2 separate regions of the Homo sapiens genome follow, and region 2 is linked to region 1. Evidence: promoter capture Hi-C in human tissues and cell types (Jung and others, 2019). All regions are on one chromosome and are shown on one strand. Each heading gives the region's core, a stretch centred on a gene start or on the middle of the fragment in contact. The rest is flanking DNA. Distances are from core to core; before and after follow the strand shown. Region 1 holds the start of SPIRE1 (spire type actin nucleation factor 1). Region 2 has its middle 9.4 kb from the start of AFG3L2.

Region 1 (7,663 bases), core at 2,388-4,887:
CCCCGTCTCTACTAAAAATACAAAAAAATTAGCCAGGCATGGTGGCAGGCATCTTTAGTCCCAGCTACTCGGGAGGCTGAGGTAGGAGAATGGCATGCACCTGGGAGGCGGAGCTTGCAAGCTTGCAGTGAGCTGAGATCGCGCCACCACACTCCAGCCTGGGCGACTGAGCGAGACTCCGTCTCAAAAAAAAAAAAATTATTTTTACTTATTTTCCCCAACTCTTCCCTACAATGGAAGTCTCATGAATACAAACGTTCCTTAAAACTGAAACGAGAAGTCAGGCGCAGTGGCTCACGCCTGCAATCCCAGCACTTTGGGAGGCCGAGGCAGGCGGATCATGAGGTCAAGAGATCAAGACCATCCTGGCCAACATGGCGAAACCCCATTTCTACCAAAAATACAAAAATTAGCTGGGCGTGGTGGCATGCGCCTATAGTCCCAGCTGCTCGGGAGGCTGAGGCAAGAGAATCACTTGAACTCAGGAGGCAGAGGTTGCAGTGAGCCAAGACTGTTCTACAGCACTCCAGCCTGGCAACAGAGGGAGACTCCATCTCAAAAAAAAAAAGAAAGAAAGAAAAGAAAAGAAAAAGAAAAGAGAGACTGGGCAAGGTGGGTTACACCTGTAACCCCAGCACTTTAGCAGGCCAAGGCAGTTGGATCACTTAAGCCCAGGAGTTCCAGGCTGCAATGAGCTATGACTACAGCACTGCACTCCAGCCTTCAGCAGCCTGGGCAATACAGCAAGACCCTGTCAAAAAAAAAAAAGAAGAAAAGAAAAAGAGAGAGAGAGAGAGAAAGAGAAAGAAATAAAGCGAAAGAAAGAAGGAAGGAATAGAATTTTTAAGTGTGCACACCACCAAATTATTCATCAAGTGTAAGAATCAAGATAAAATCTTCAGAAGACTGTATCTTCCTGAGCCACGCAACTATTCTTAAAGCCAATGAGGAAATAAACTAATGTTTTAGTATGAACTTCTTAAATAATTTTAGGCAACAGAAAATGCTCAAGTCTCTATCAACAACTTTGATTAGGCCTCCTCCATAACTGGTAGCGCAGGTCATGAGCAGAACTGAGAAAGAGAATTATAAACCTATTGCGAATTGTGGAGAACAACTCCACTCACTATTTTCTCCATAAAGGCAGTTTATTACACTGAGATCAACATGTTATCACTCACACTAGTGATGTAAAAAATAATCCAATTCAACATAAGATTCAGACCAAAAAAAAAGAAAAAACCCATCCACGAGAATCTATCAATCTTTGACAACAAAACTACACGATTTTGGGATTAAATTTAAGTGACAAGACAATGTAAACTGGGGGCTTGTTCTCTCCGGAAATCACCACTACCAACGCTGCTTCTAAAAGCAGGCTGCACACAACCATTTTTCCTCTGGAAATAGCTAAATCCCAAGGCACGATATTGCTGTATTTTTTTTTGAGACGGCGTCTCGCTCTGTCACCCAGGCTGGAGTGCAGTGGCGCGATCTCAGCTCACTACAGCCTCCACCTCCCAGGTTCAAGCAATTCTCCCACCTCAGCCTCCCGAGTAGCTGGTATTCCAGCGGCACAACACCACGCCCGGCTAATTTTTGTATTTTTAATAGAGACGGGGTTTCACCATGTTGGCCAGGCTGGTCTCGAACTCCTGACCTCAGGTGATCCACCTGCCTCGGCATCCCAAAGTGCTGGGATTACAGGCTTGAGCCACCGCACCTGGCAGACATTGCTGTATTTTATAAATGTATCTTTTGTACCATTTAATACACTATAAATTATAATTGCAAGTATTTCCCACTAAGATTAAGTCCAAGTTTAAAAGCAATAAGCCCATCAAAGAAACAAAAATACTATTTGAAATAGTTTCAAAAGAACAATTAAAAAGATGGCTTTAAATAAAAAATCGTTTACCTGACGCTAAAAAATAAAAGATAAAAGCATGTAAATAAAAATGTGTTTACCTGACACTAAAAAATAAAAGATAAAAACGTTCTGGTGGAACTGAAAGAATAACTATAACCTTGAATATTGTTTTAATCAAGTTAGACAAGGGTTTTCATTAAATGTCATTTTACTAATTCGAAATTACATCTTTCACCTTAAGCATTTTGACATTTCCATCAACTTTCTAAAAGTGAGGGTAGATTGTTTTTCTATGTTTTTAATAGACTTGCCTCTCAAAAGAATGAATTAGATAAAAACTGATGGGAGAAACCTTTTCTCAACCTCCTCCTCCTCTTCAATGAGCATCTGAGTAAACCCTGGCTATAAATTACTGTTTAGGTCATAATCCTGAAAATTTTACATTAGACAATGACGTAACTAAGGCCCATTTTCTCTTTGTATCCCGACATCCTGTCAACTTTTCACTTTACAAGCCTGTTTTTCATCACAACAAATTTTCACATACAGGAATGCAATCAGTATTTTCTAACGTCCAGGAGCCAAAAATCACTATTTAGTCTATTTTTCCATTTCTCCCCAAAGAGCAGAATTCTCACGGTTCAGAATCATCTTTACATTTCCGAACCGAGGAAAGGCTGTCTAATGTGGAATACTGCTAGTTTCCCGTGAGGAGTGCGGTGTTTCCGACAGCGGCACTGAGGATCCGTGCGGAGCCCCCGCGTGAAGCCTGCGATGCCCTCCCCACCCCGTGAACCCGGCCGTGTGTCAGCAGCCACGGCGTGAGGCGCACAGGCCGCTGGCCCGGAGCAGGGCCCAGCCCACCGCTCCCAAACGCGCCGCGGGCAGCTGTCCCGCGGGCAGCACAATGACGAGCGCCCCGCGGCCCGCAGGCCCAGGCCCACCCAAACGTCCTCCGCACAGCGGATTTGCGCCGTCGCCCGCCACGAGGCTCTGACCTCCGAGGGGCCCCGGCCAGCCACGGCCTGACGCCGTCCTCCCCTGCGGGTCCCCGCCGGATCCTCCCGGGGGTCTCCCGTGGCAAAATGGGGGGGGACGGCGGGGGCGGAAGGGCCGGGGACGCTGAGGGTAAGGCGGCCCAGCCGCGGGTGTTCCAAGAACTACGAGGGAAAGGGGCCCGGCGGCCTCACCCGCAACTGGGGGCGGCTCTCCCGCGTCGTCGGCCGCGGGCGCCAGGGTGACGGCGCCGTCCCTCCAGACGCGGATCTGCGCGGCCGAGCGCACACGGTGGCGGGGCTGGCGGCGGCGGGCGGCGGCGCGCAGGGAACCGCAGCACTGGTAGCACACGGCCCACGCCTGCTCCTCGTTGATGGGCTGGTTGTACAGCCGCAGGATCTCCTCCAGGCTCAGCGCGTCCCGGGAGCCCCCGGCCGCGCCGCCGGCTGCCCCGGGCTCCCGCGGCCCCTCGCCGCCCACTGCCTCAGTCCGCGGCTCCCCGCCGCCCGCCGGGCCAGCCGCCTGAGCCATCCCGCGGGTGGGCGCTGCGCTCGGCAGTCGCGCCGTGTGCCGGCGTCTCCTCAGCTCCGGAGCATCGTCGTCGCGCGCCGCCGCCTCACCATCCCCGGAACCGCCGCCGCCCAACGCGGCCGCGCGCGCCGCCGCCGGGACCAGGCGAGTGCCCGGGAGGCGTGGGCAAGAGGAGGGCGGCGAGGACACGGCTGCAGTCCCGGTCAGACAGCCGCCGGCCGGTAGCGACGCGATGGCGTCCGGCGCCCCGCCCCGCCCCGCCCCGCCTCGCGCCGTCCAGCGCCGCCCAGCGCCCGCCCCTTAGGGGGCCGCACGGGCCGGGGGATGCACGCTCTGGAGGTGAGGACCAGGCAGGAGGGCCTCGCCTCGAGGCGAGATGGCCGCACGGTCTCTAGCCCGCAGGGCTCTCAGAGTCGCAGGCGGTGACGCCCGGTCGGGGGGCCCGGTCGCAAGGGACACACAGCTGGGGGCGCAATGGTGAGGGCGGCGACGCACGGTCCGGAGGGGATGCGCGGCCGGGTAGGGCGTGCAGGGTTGTGGGGCGTGGGGGACACGCGGGGCCGGGCGCGCGGTCGGGGGGCGCAGGGGCAAGAGGGTGTCGCATTTATCAGGGAAGTCCCCGGCCGACTCTGGCGGGGAACTGGGCGCGCCAACCCGGGTCACCGCCCTGCACAGCGGGAGAAGTCACCCGCATTGACGTTCCCTAGGCGCTGGATCGCCGAAGGTCTGGTTGAAAACTTGAACCCGCCTGGAGCGGATGCCTAAGAAAATGCAGGCCCGCTGAAGCCTCCCCGCCGGGCCCTGGGCCCTGAAAGCCTCCGGCAGTTTCCCGTGACCCCGCGGCCGCTCTGCGCGTTTTCCGATTTCTTGCTGGTTGAATACCTCCCTCTCCACTCCCATCTTCAGGGTAAGCACCGTAAAGACGGGGATCTTTACGGGTTTTCCTCACTGACTTCTCCCAAAAGCTAAACCAGCGCCTGGAATATAAACATGTACATAATTTGCAGGTGTTAGTTTTAGCGTCCTTCCGGATTCATTTGTAACATTGGTCCCTTCCCTCACTAAGGTAATGTCTCAAGTACCACACTCATCAGAGCATGTGGAATGAATATCACAGTGGTAAAATTGAACTGAGGGCAATTAGCCGTAGAAAGAAAGAATTCCGCCCCCCCAACCTATTAAATATGCAATAAAACAGATAATTCTTAATCACCCATTGGTAGATTAATTTAATCGATAAAATTCCACTGAGGCTAGTCCTGTGTGAAAGCCCTACAGAGTGTTGAAAGCATCAACCAAATAGGCAATGTATATTAAGTTCCAGTAAACCTTTTACGGCAGTTTTATGTAAAATGTTAGAAATCACGCTCTCAACAATTGCATCTTGCGGTAGAAACTACAACAGTCTATTTAAATAACAACAGTCTATTAAAATGAGATACCATCTTACATACAGCTGGGAATGGGGAGGAGGGAGAAAAGCAACAGGACGAAAAGGAAAATTAAGAAATTGAAAGAGGGCCGTGCGCAGTGGCTTAGGCCTGTAATCCCAGCACTTTGGGAGGCTGAGGCGGGCAGATCACTGAGGTCAGGAGTTCGAGACCAGCCTGGCCAACATGGGGAAACCCTGTCTCTACTAAAAATACAAAGAAAATTAGCCGAGTGTGGTGACGCACGCTTGTAATCCCAGCTACCCGGGAGGCTGAGGCAGGAGAATCGCTTGAACCTGGGAGGTGGAAGTTGCAATGAGCCAAGATCACACCACTGCACTCCAGCCTGGGGGACAGAGCGAGAGTCTGTCTCAAAAAAATAAATAATAAATTGAAAGAGGAGAAGAAAGCTCCCCAGGCAACTTATTATAATTTCAGTACGAGAGAGACAAAACAACCCCTTAAAGTAGCATCACTTAATTATAGGTTCATAATCTCATTTGTAGCAATGCAGTATCTATGTGTGCCAAAGCCCAGAGAGGCAAACATGTAATTCCTTATGTGTGACACTATATACATATAAATATATCTCTGTCCTCTTGATTAAAAACAGACAAACATTCCCAAATTTTGCTATTTCAAAAGTTTATCCTGTGTGGATTTTGCAAATACAGACTGGTTTAAAATATTTTGAACAATCCAGGAAAAAAAATGAAGGTCTACTTTTATGGACAACACTACCACCTCCTGGCCTTATGGGATACTGCTGCCCATTGCACTTGGACAACTACAGCCAAACACATTTTTATCTTTGCCTTACCCACCAGTAAACAAGATAAATGGGTTAATAAACTGAGGAATCTATGAGCCATTAACCTGCTAACCCTGGCATAGAGCAGTAAATAAATCTTGAAGACAACAATACAGGGAAGGAGGAAGTGAGTAAAGGAAATCCAAACTTTATCTTTTAAAAGATGCATTCTTCTTTTTTTAGTCATCCCTCTAATCAATGGAAAAAGATGCATTTTTTTTTTTTTTTTAATTGAGACAGAGTCTCACCCTGTCTCCCAGGCTAGGGTCAGTGCCGCGATTTCAGCTCACTGCAACTTCCGCCTCCTGGGTTGAGATGATTCTCGTGCCTCGGCCTCCCGAGTAGCTGGGATTACAGGCACACGCTACCATGCCTGGCTAATTTTTGTATTTTTAGTAAAGACAGGGTTTTACCATGTTGGCCAGGCTGGTCTCAAACTCCTGACTTCAGTGGTCCACCCGCCTCAGCCTCCAAAAGCGCTGGGATTACAGGTGTGAGCCACTGTGCCCGGCCAAAAGATACATTCTTAAAAACAAATTTGCAACACTAGGATTTTCCTTGAGTGATGATTTTTTTTAACATATACACATTTTGAGAGGGAGACATTACTGCACTGTATCACAAGACAGTTATATCCAACAGAAGGGCTTTTTTTTTTATTGCCAAGTAACAATTCATGGTATGATATACTTAAATATTTTGCCTGTGTGAGCATATATGTAATTAAGTTGAGGAAAGATGACAAGTAGAATATTGTGTGATGTTTCTTCTCTACACAAAATAAAGGAAAATCTTTAAAATCCTAGCTGTCTTCTAAGTGTAGTTATACAACATGAACACTTGACTCTTTTTTGTATAAAGACTATAACTTACTAACTTCTAAATGATTTTCAGTACTCCTTAAAGTTTTGATAAGCTGGCCAGGCATGGTGGCTCACGCCTGTAATCCCAGCAGTTTGGGAGGCCGAGGCGGGCAGATCACCTGAGGTCAGGAGTTCGAGACCAGCCTGGCCAACATGGCAAAAACCTGTCTCTACTAAAAATACAAAAATTAGCTGGGCATGGTGGCAGGCACCTGTAATCCCAGCTACTCGGGAGGCTGAGGCAGGGGAATCACTTGAACCCGGGAGGCGGAGCGTGCAGTGAGCCGAGATCACGCCATTGCACCCCAGCCTGGGTGACAAGAGTGAGCCTTCATCTCAAAAAAGAAGAAAAAAAATTGATAAGCCTTACCGTCATCCATCATCACAACACTCTGAAAGTGACTGCTGACCACTCAAAGGCTACCAGCCATTGATATCTTCTCAGTGGAGTTCTAGCACCCCTGTGGAATAACAGCACTGTCCCATTTTCTCATTTTCAATTCAAATTCAAAGATTTGAGGCCAGGCGCAGTGGCTCATACCTGTAATCCCAACACTTTGGGAAGCCAACGCAGGCAGATCGCTTGAGGCCATGAGTTCGAGACCAGTCTGGCCAACATGGTGAAACCTCGTCTCTACTAAAAATGCAAAGAAAATTAGCCAGGCATGGTGATGCATGCCTGTAATCCCAGCTACTCGGGAGGCTGAGGCAGGAGAATCGCTTGAACCCAGGAAGTGGAGATTGCTGTGAGCCAAGATTGTACCACTGCACTCCAGCCAGGGTGACAGAGTGAGAGTCCGTCTCAAAGAGAAAAAAAAAAAATCCAAAGATTCAAATGCCTTTATGTTCAGGATATTTTGTTCCCAATTTCAGTCATTGATTGTATTTTTACTCTATGACTTCATATTTAAAATGTCTGAACAACTCAAATCAACATTTAAATGTCTTTTTCAAAGTGCTGTGAAGTCCATGTTACTCTGAATATGATTTTGTTTTGTTGATTTTGTTACTTTATTAAAAATTGAATCCTTGACTTTTTTTATATTTACTTCTTATTCTTGTAGAATAAGTGTACTTCATGCTTCATACTCTGGAGGTACTGGCTGTGCTGCTCTGAGTCTTTCAGGGAGCACCATCACTGTGCAGCCCAAGCTTTTCCCAG
Region 2 (7,663 bases), core at 3,369-5,868, 270 kb before region 1:
TCGCACCACTGCCCTCCAGCCTGGGTGACAGAGTGAGACTCCTTCTCAAAAAAAAAAGAGATAAGATGGCTATACTAATATCAAATAAAAACACATTAAGATAAAAACTCTTGGCTGGGTGCAGTGGCTCATGCCTCTAATCTCAGCACTTTGGGAGGCCAAGGCAGGCAGATCACCTGAGGTCAGGAGTTCGAGACCAGCTTGACCAACATGGTGAAACCTCATCTCTACTAAAAATACAAAAATTAATTGGGCATGATGGCACACACCTGTAATCCCAGCTACTCACGAGGCTGAGGCAGGAGAATTGCTTGAACCCAGGAGGCAGAGGTTGCAGTGAGCCCGGATTGCGCCACTGCACTCCAGCCTGGGTGACAGAGAGAGACTCAGTCTCAAAAAAAAAAAAAAAAAAAAAAGATAAAAACTCTTATAAGACACAAGGAAGGACATAATATACTGACAAAAGGATCAATTCATCAAGTAGATATAACAATTATAAACATATGCACACCATTCAACAGAGCCCCCAAAATATATGAAGCAAATATTGATAGAATTGAAGGTAGAAATAGATGGTTCTACAATAATAGCTGGAAACTTCAATACACTACTTTTAATAATGGATATAACATTTACACAGAAGATCATTGGGAAATGGAGGACTGTGTGTGTGTGTGTGTGTGTGAGTGTGTGTGTTGTGGTTTTTTTGTTTTTGTTTTTGTTTTTTTGAGATGGAGTTTTGCTCTTGTTGCCCAGGCTGGAGGGCAATGGCGTGATCTCGGCTCACCGCAACCTCCGCCTCCCGGGTTCAAGTGATTCTCCTGCCTCAGCCTCCCGAGTAGCTGGGATTACAGGCATGTGCCACCATGCCCAGCTAATTTTGTATTTTTAGTAGAGACAGGGTTTCTCCATGTTAGTCAGGCTGGTCTTGAACTCCCGACCTCAGGCGATCCACCTGCCTCAGCCTCCCAAAGTTCTGGGATTACAGGCGTGAGCCACTGCAACCGGCCATGTTGTATTTTTAAGTCAGGATCTTGCTCTGTCATCCAGACTGGAATGCAGTGGCACAATCACAGCTCACTGCAACCTTGACCTCCTGGGCTCAAGTAATCCTCCTGCCTCAGCCTCCCAAAGTGCTGAGATTATAGATGTGAGCCACCACACCCAGCTAAACAATACTATAGCTCACACCTGTAATCCCAGCACTTTCAGAGGCTGAGGCAGGCAGATCACTTGAGTTCAGGAGTTCAAAACCAGCCTGGCCAACATGGTGAAACTTTGTCTCTACTAAAAATAAAAAAATTAGCCAGGCATGGTGGCGCATGCCTGTAGTCCCAGTTACTTGAGAGGCTGAGGCAGAAGGATTGCTTGAGCACAGGAGGAAGAGCTTGTAGTGAGCAGAGAGCATGCAACTGCACTCCAGCCTGAGCAAAGGGAGTGAAACCCTGTCTCAAAAAAAATAAAATAAAATAAACCATAAACCAACTAGACCTACAAGACGTATATGCAGAGCTCCTCCCAACAACAGAATACACATTCTTCTCAAGTGCACAGGAAACATTCTCTGGGATAGACCATATGATAGGCCACAAAACAAGTCTCAATAGATTTAAAAAGACTGAAATCATGCAAACTATCTTCTCTGACCACATTGGAATGAAGTTAAAAATCAATAACAAGAGGAAAACTGGAAAACTCACAAATATGTGGCTGTGAAACAACACACCCTCAAATAGCCAATGACTGAGAGAAGAAATCACAAGGAAAATTAGAGAATACTGCGAGACAAAGGAGAATAAAAACACAATATGCTGAAACTTATGGATGCAGTGAAGGCAGTTCTCAAACAGAAATTTATAGCTGTAAATAGCTACATTTTAAAAAGAAGAAAGATCTCAAATCAATAACTTTACACCTTGAGGGAATAGAAAAAGAACGAACTAAACTCAAAGCTAGATGAAGGAAAAAAATAATAAAGATTAGAGCAGAGATAAATAAAATAGAAAAGAGGAAAAGCAATCGAGAAAATTAACAAAAACAGGAGTTGGTTCTTAAAAAGATAAATAGGCCGGGCCCAGTGGCTCACATCTGTAATGCCAGCACTTTGGGAAGCCGAGGCAGGCAGATCATGAGGTCAGGAGTTTGAGACCAGCCTGACCAATGTGATGAAACCCTGTCTCTACTAAAAATACAAAAATGAGCCAGGCATGGTGACACGCACCTGTAATCCAAGCTACTCAGGAGGCTGAGGCAGGAGAATCTCCTGAACCCGGTAGGTGGAGGTTGCAATGAGCCGAGATCTCGCTATTGCACTCCAGCCTGGGTGACAGAGCAAGACTCCATCTAAAAAAAAAGGAGATCATGTCTAGCTATATTGCCCAGGCCAGAGTGCAGTGATATGACCATAGCTTACACAAGCCTTAAACTCCCAGGTTCCAGTGATCCTCCTGCCTCAGCCTCCCAAGTAGCTGGGACTATAGGCATTTGCCACCATGCCTAGCTCTAATCCTTTTCCTGTAAAAGGTCAATAGTAGTTACCCCACTTTTATTTCTGATTTTAGATATTTGCAACTTCTCCCTGTTTTCTTTGTCAGTCTAGTTAAAGATTTGTCAACTTTGGCCGAGTGCGGTGGCTCATGCCTGTAATCCCAGCATTTTGGGAGGCCAAGGCAGGTGGATCACGAGGTCAGGAAATTGAGACCACCCTGGCTAACACAGTGAAACCCTGTATCTACTAAAAATACAAAAAAATTAGCCAGGCGTGGTGGCGGGCGCCTGTAGTCCCAGCTATTTGGGAGGCTGAGGCAGGAGAATGGTGTGAACCCGGGAGGCGGAGCTCGCAGTGAGCTGAGATCGCGCCACCGCACTCCAGCCTGGACTACAGAACGAGACTCCATCTCAATAAATAAATAAATAAGTTTTGTCAATTTTATTTATCTTTTTTTTTTGAGATGGAGTCTTGCTGCTCTGTCACCCAGGCTGGAGTGCAGTGGCACAATCTCAGCTCACTGCAACCTCTGCCTCCTGGGTTCAAGCCATTCTCCTGACTCAGCCTGTAATCCCAGCACTTTGGGAATCCGAGGCGGGCTGATCACGAGGTCAGGAGTTCGAGACCGGCCTGGCCAATATGGTGAAACCCCGTCTCTACTAAAAAAATATAAAAATTAGTTGGGCATGGTGGTGCACGCCTGTAGTCCCAGCTACTTGGGAGGCTGAAACAGGAGAATCTCTTGAACCTGGGAGGTGGAGGTTGCAGTGAACGGAGATCATGCCACTGCACACTCTAGCCTGGGCAACAGAGTGAGACTTCATCTTAAAAAAAGAAATTTAAGAAGACTTAAATAAGTGAAAGGGTATTCCATGTTAGTGGATTGGAAAACAATATTGTTAAGATAGCAAAACTGCCCAAAGCCATCTACAGATTCAGTGCAGTCACAACTCTAAGTGCCTGCCTGCTTGCTTGTTTTCTTTATCTTTCTTTCTTTCTTTCTTTTCTTTCTTTCTTCCTTCCTTCCTTCCATCCATCCTTCCTTCCTTCCTTTCTTTTTCTTTTTGCAGACATGAAAATGCAATCTTCAAATTCATATGGAATTGCAAAGGGCCCCAAATACAACCTTGAAAAAGAATACAGTTGTAGGATTCATACTTCTCATTTACAAAACTTCATAAAATCAAAACTGTAGGTATTGGCATAAGGACAGACATATAGACGTACAGAATATAATTAAGAATCCAGAAGTAAATTCATACATGTCAACTAATTTTTGACAAGGATGCAAAGTTCATCTAATAGAGAAAGAATAGTCTTTTCAACAAATGGTTCTAGGAGAACTGGATGCAAAAGAATGAGTTGGAGCCTTACCCCTCACACCATATACGAAATTAGATTGATTTATTTACTTATTTATTTAGAGACAAAGTCTTACTCTGTCACCCAGACTGGAATGTAGTAGTGTGATCATAGCTCACTGCAGCCTCAACCTTTGGGCTGAAGTGATCCTCCCACCTCATCCTCCAAAGTAGCTGGGACTACAGGTGCACACCACTATACCTGGCTAGTTTTTTAAATTTTTTGCAGAAATAGGGTGTCACTATGTTGCTTACACTGGTCTCAAACTCCTGGCCTCAAGCAACCCTCCTACCTCATTCTCTCAAAGAGCTGGGATTATAGGTATGAGCCCCTGCACCCAGCCAAATTGTATATTTAGATGGTTTAAATGACAAATTTATATTGTAAATTTTTAGCACAATAAAAAAGAAAAAAATGCTTCAATTAAAAAAAAAGAAAAGAGGTCAGGTGCGGTGGCTCATGCCTGTAGTCCCAGCATTTTAGGAGACCAAGGCGGGTGGATTGCTTGAGGCCAGGAGTTCAAGACCAACCTGGTCAACATGGCAAAACTCCATCTCTACTAAAAATACAAAAATTAGCCAGGCATGGTGGCGCACATCTGTAGTCCCAGCTACTTGGGAGGCTGAGGCACAAGAATCACTTGAACTTGGGAGACAGAGGTTGAAGTGAGCCAAGATCACGCCACTACACTCTAGCCTCAGCCACGGAGTGAGACTCTGTCTCAAAAAAAACGCCTGTAATCCCAGCACTTTGGGAGGCCGAGGTGGGCGGATCACGAGGTCAGGAGATCGAGACCACGGTGAAACCTCGTCTCTACTAAAAATACAAAAAATTAGCCAGGCGCAGTGGCAGGCGCCTGTAGTCCCAGCTACTCGGGAGGCTGAGGCAGGAGAATGGCATGAACTCGGAAGACGGAGCTTGCAGTGAGCCGAGATCGTGCCACTGCACTCCAGCGACAGAGCGAGACTCCGTCTCAAAAAAAAAAAAAAAAACAAACAAAAAGAAAAGAAAACATGAATGAATCTTGAAAATAGTATGCTACACAAAAAGGCCACATAGTGTGTGAATCAATTTACATAAAATGTCCAAATAGGCAGATCTATAGAGACGGAAGCAGATAGTGGCTATATAGGGTTGATGGAGGGAGGGGAGGGATTGGGAAGGGTGCTAGCTAAGGGTTTCAGGTTTCTTTCCAAGGTGATCAAAATGTCCTAAGATCAATTGTGGTGATGGTTGTACCGCTCTTTGAATGACCTAAAACCATTAATTTCAACATTTTAAATAGATGAACTATATGGTATATAAATGATATCTCATTGAAGCTATTTTTTTAATGGGCAAAGGACTTGAATAGACATGTCCTCGAAGAAGACATACAAATGGCCAACCAGCACATAGAGAGAGGCTCAACATCATTAGCTGTCAATGAAAGTCAAATCAAAACCACGAGATTCCACTTCACACTCTAGGAGGGCTGCAATCAAAAATACTATAGATAGTACAAAATAATATAGATGTATACATAATAAAGATAACAAGTATTATCAAGAGTGTGGAGAAATTGGAACCCTCACGCTAGTAGGTCTATGGAAAACTGTCAATTTTCATAGGTTAAACATAGTCATATGACTCAGCATGTCCACTCCTGGGCATCTTCCCAAGATAATTGAAAGGATATATCCACACAGAAACCTGTACATGTGTTCATAACAAAGGTACATATGCTGTGTTCATAGCAGCATTATTCATGATAGCCAAAAACCAGAAAGGGCCTAAATATGTATCAACTGAATGGATAAAATGAAATGTGGTGTATTATTACAATGGATTATTATTCAGCCATAAAATGAAGACCTGATACATGCTATAGCATGGATAAACCTTGGAAACAAAGAAATCAGACATGAAAGACCACATATTATAAGATTGCATTTATACATATGAAATATGCTGAACAGGCAAATCCATGGAGACGGAAGACGGTGATTAGGGATTGCCAGGGGCTGGGGGGATGGTTGATAGAGTGTGCAAGACTAATGAAGGTGGCTGCCTACAGCAGGCAGGATGGTGTGGACTGTCTGAGCTTCTCGGTGTGTGCTTTTTCACAGTGTTTACCTTATTGAACCATGTGAAAATATTACCTATTCAAATAAAATATAATACAATCTAAGACTATTAAAGGATGTTATTTTTTTCAGTGCTGAGTGAGATTACAAGTACTTTTGAAAAAATAATTTTATGACTATGTATATTTTCCAAATATCTTATAATAAATGTATAATAGTTTTACGAGCAAGAAAATGTAAAATGTTGAAATATAAAAGGTTCAGTATAAGGATGGGGCCAGGTGCAGTGGATTATAGAATCCCAGCACTTTGAGAAGCCAAGTGGGGAGGATGGCCTGAGGCCAGGAGTTTGAGACCAGCCTGGGCAACACAGTGAGATCCCCGTCTGTACAAAAAAATTTAAAAATTAGGCCAGGTGCAGTGGCTCATGCCTGTAATCCCAGCACTTTGGGAAGCTGAGGTGGGCGGATCATTTGAGGTCAGGAGTTCAAGACCAGCCTGGCCAACATGAGGAAACCCCATCCCTACTAAAAATACAAAAATTAGCCAGGCATGGTGGCACGCACCTGTAATCCCAACTACTCTGGAGGCTGAGGCAGGAGAATCACTTGAACCCGGGAGGGGGTGGTTTGCAGTAAGCCAAGATCAAGCTACTGCACTCCAGCCTGGGAGACACAGTGAGATTCTGTCTAAAAAAAAGAAAAAAAAAAAAAACCGCCAGGCACGGTGGCCCATGCCTGTAATCCCAACACTTTGGGAGGCTGAGGCCGGGTGGATCACAAGGTCAGGAGTTCAAGACCAGCCTGGCCAAGATGATGAAATCCGGCCTCTACTAAAAATACAAAAATTAGCCACGCATGGCCAGGCGCGGTGGCTCACGCCTGTAATCCCAGCACTTTGAGAGGCCAAGGCGGGTGGATCACGAGGTCAGGAGATTGAGACCATCCTGGCTGACACAGTGAAACCCTGTCTCTACTAAAAATACAAAAAATTAGCCGGGCGTGGTGGCGGGTGCCTGTAGTCCCAGCCACTCTGGAGGCTGAGGCAGGAGAATGGCATGAACTCGGGAGGCGGAGCTTGCAGTGAGCCGAGATCGCACCACTGCACTCCAGCCTGGGTGACAGAGCGAGACTCCATCTCAAAAAAAAAAATTAAAAATTAAAAATTAGCTCAGTGTGCTGGTACAGGCCTGTAGTTCAAGCTACTCAGGAGGCTGAGGCAGGAGGATTGCCTGAGCCCAGAATTCAAGGCTGCAGTGACCTATGATCACACCATTGCACTCCAGCCTAGGTGACAGAACAAGACTCTGTCTTTCAAAATAAAAAAAAAGTTCAGTATAAATTTTTTTTTCATCAGTGTGGACAGAAACAAAGTTACAAAATGAAAAGTAAAAGTATCTTCATTTCTCATGTTCACATCTTAAAGGTAACTTTCTTTCTTTCTTTCTTTCTTTTTTTTTTTTTTTTTGAGACGGAGTCTCACTGTGTTGCCCAGGCTGGAGTGCAGTGGCCTGATCTCAGCTTACTGCAAGCTTTGCCTCGCAGATTTCAAGCTATTCTCCTGCCTCGGCCTCCCAAGTAGCTGGAATTACAGGTGCTCACCACCATGCCTGGCTAATTTTTTTGTATTTTTAGTAGAGACGGGGTTTCACTGTGTTAGCCAGGATGGTTTCGATCTCCTGACCTCGTGATCCACGCACCTCAGCCTCCCAAAGTGCTGGGATTACAGGCGTGAGCCACCGCGCCCG

Evidence for each region. Contacts are between HindIII fragments. The study calls those that stand out against the background at their distance.
Region 2: a contact is called between a fragment that was not itself captured here and the fragment with the promoter of SPIRE1 in region 1, in 5 of the 25 tissues and cell types used here (dorsolateral prefrontal cortex, hippocampus, lymphoblastoid cells and 2 more).

The regions. Positions count from the first base shown.
Region 1 is chr18:12,654,470-12,662,132 of GRCh38, forward strand. It overlaps SPIRE1 (spire type actin nucleation factor 1), which reads right to left and starts at 3,638. Exons shown (of 17, transcript NM_001128626.2): 1 at 3,061-3,638. The coding sequence starts at 3,397. It also overlaps a transcript of PSMG2 not described here and a transcript of CEP76 not described here. RefSeq lists silencers at 3,058-3,177, 3,368-3,787, 3,657-3,825, 3,828-3,897, 3,948-4,097. The HindIII fragment of the contact is 13,339 bases long and covers 1-7,663 here.
Region 2 is chr18:12,382,836-12,390,498 of GRCh38, forward strand. No RefSeq gene overlaps it. Among named protein-coding and RNA genes, the nearest start is that of AFG3L2, 9.4 kb to the left of the region's middle. The HindIII fragment of the contact is 5,953 bases long and covers 1,643-7,595 here.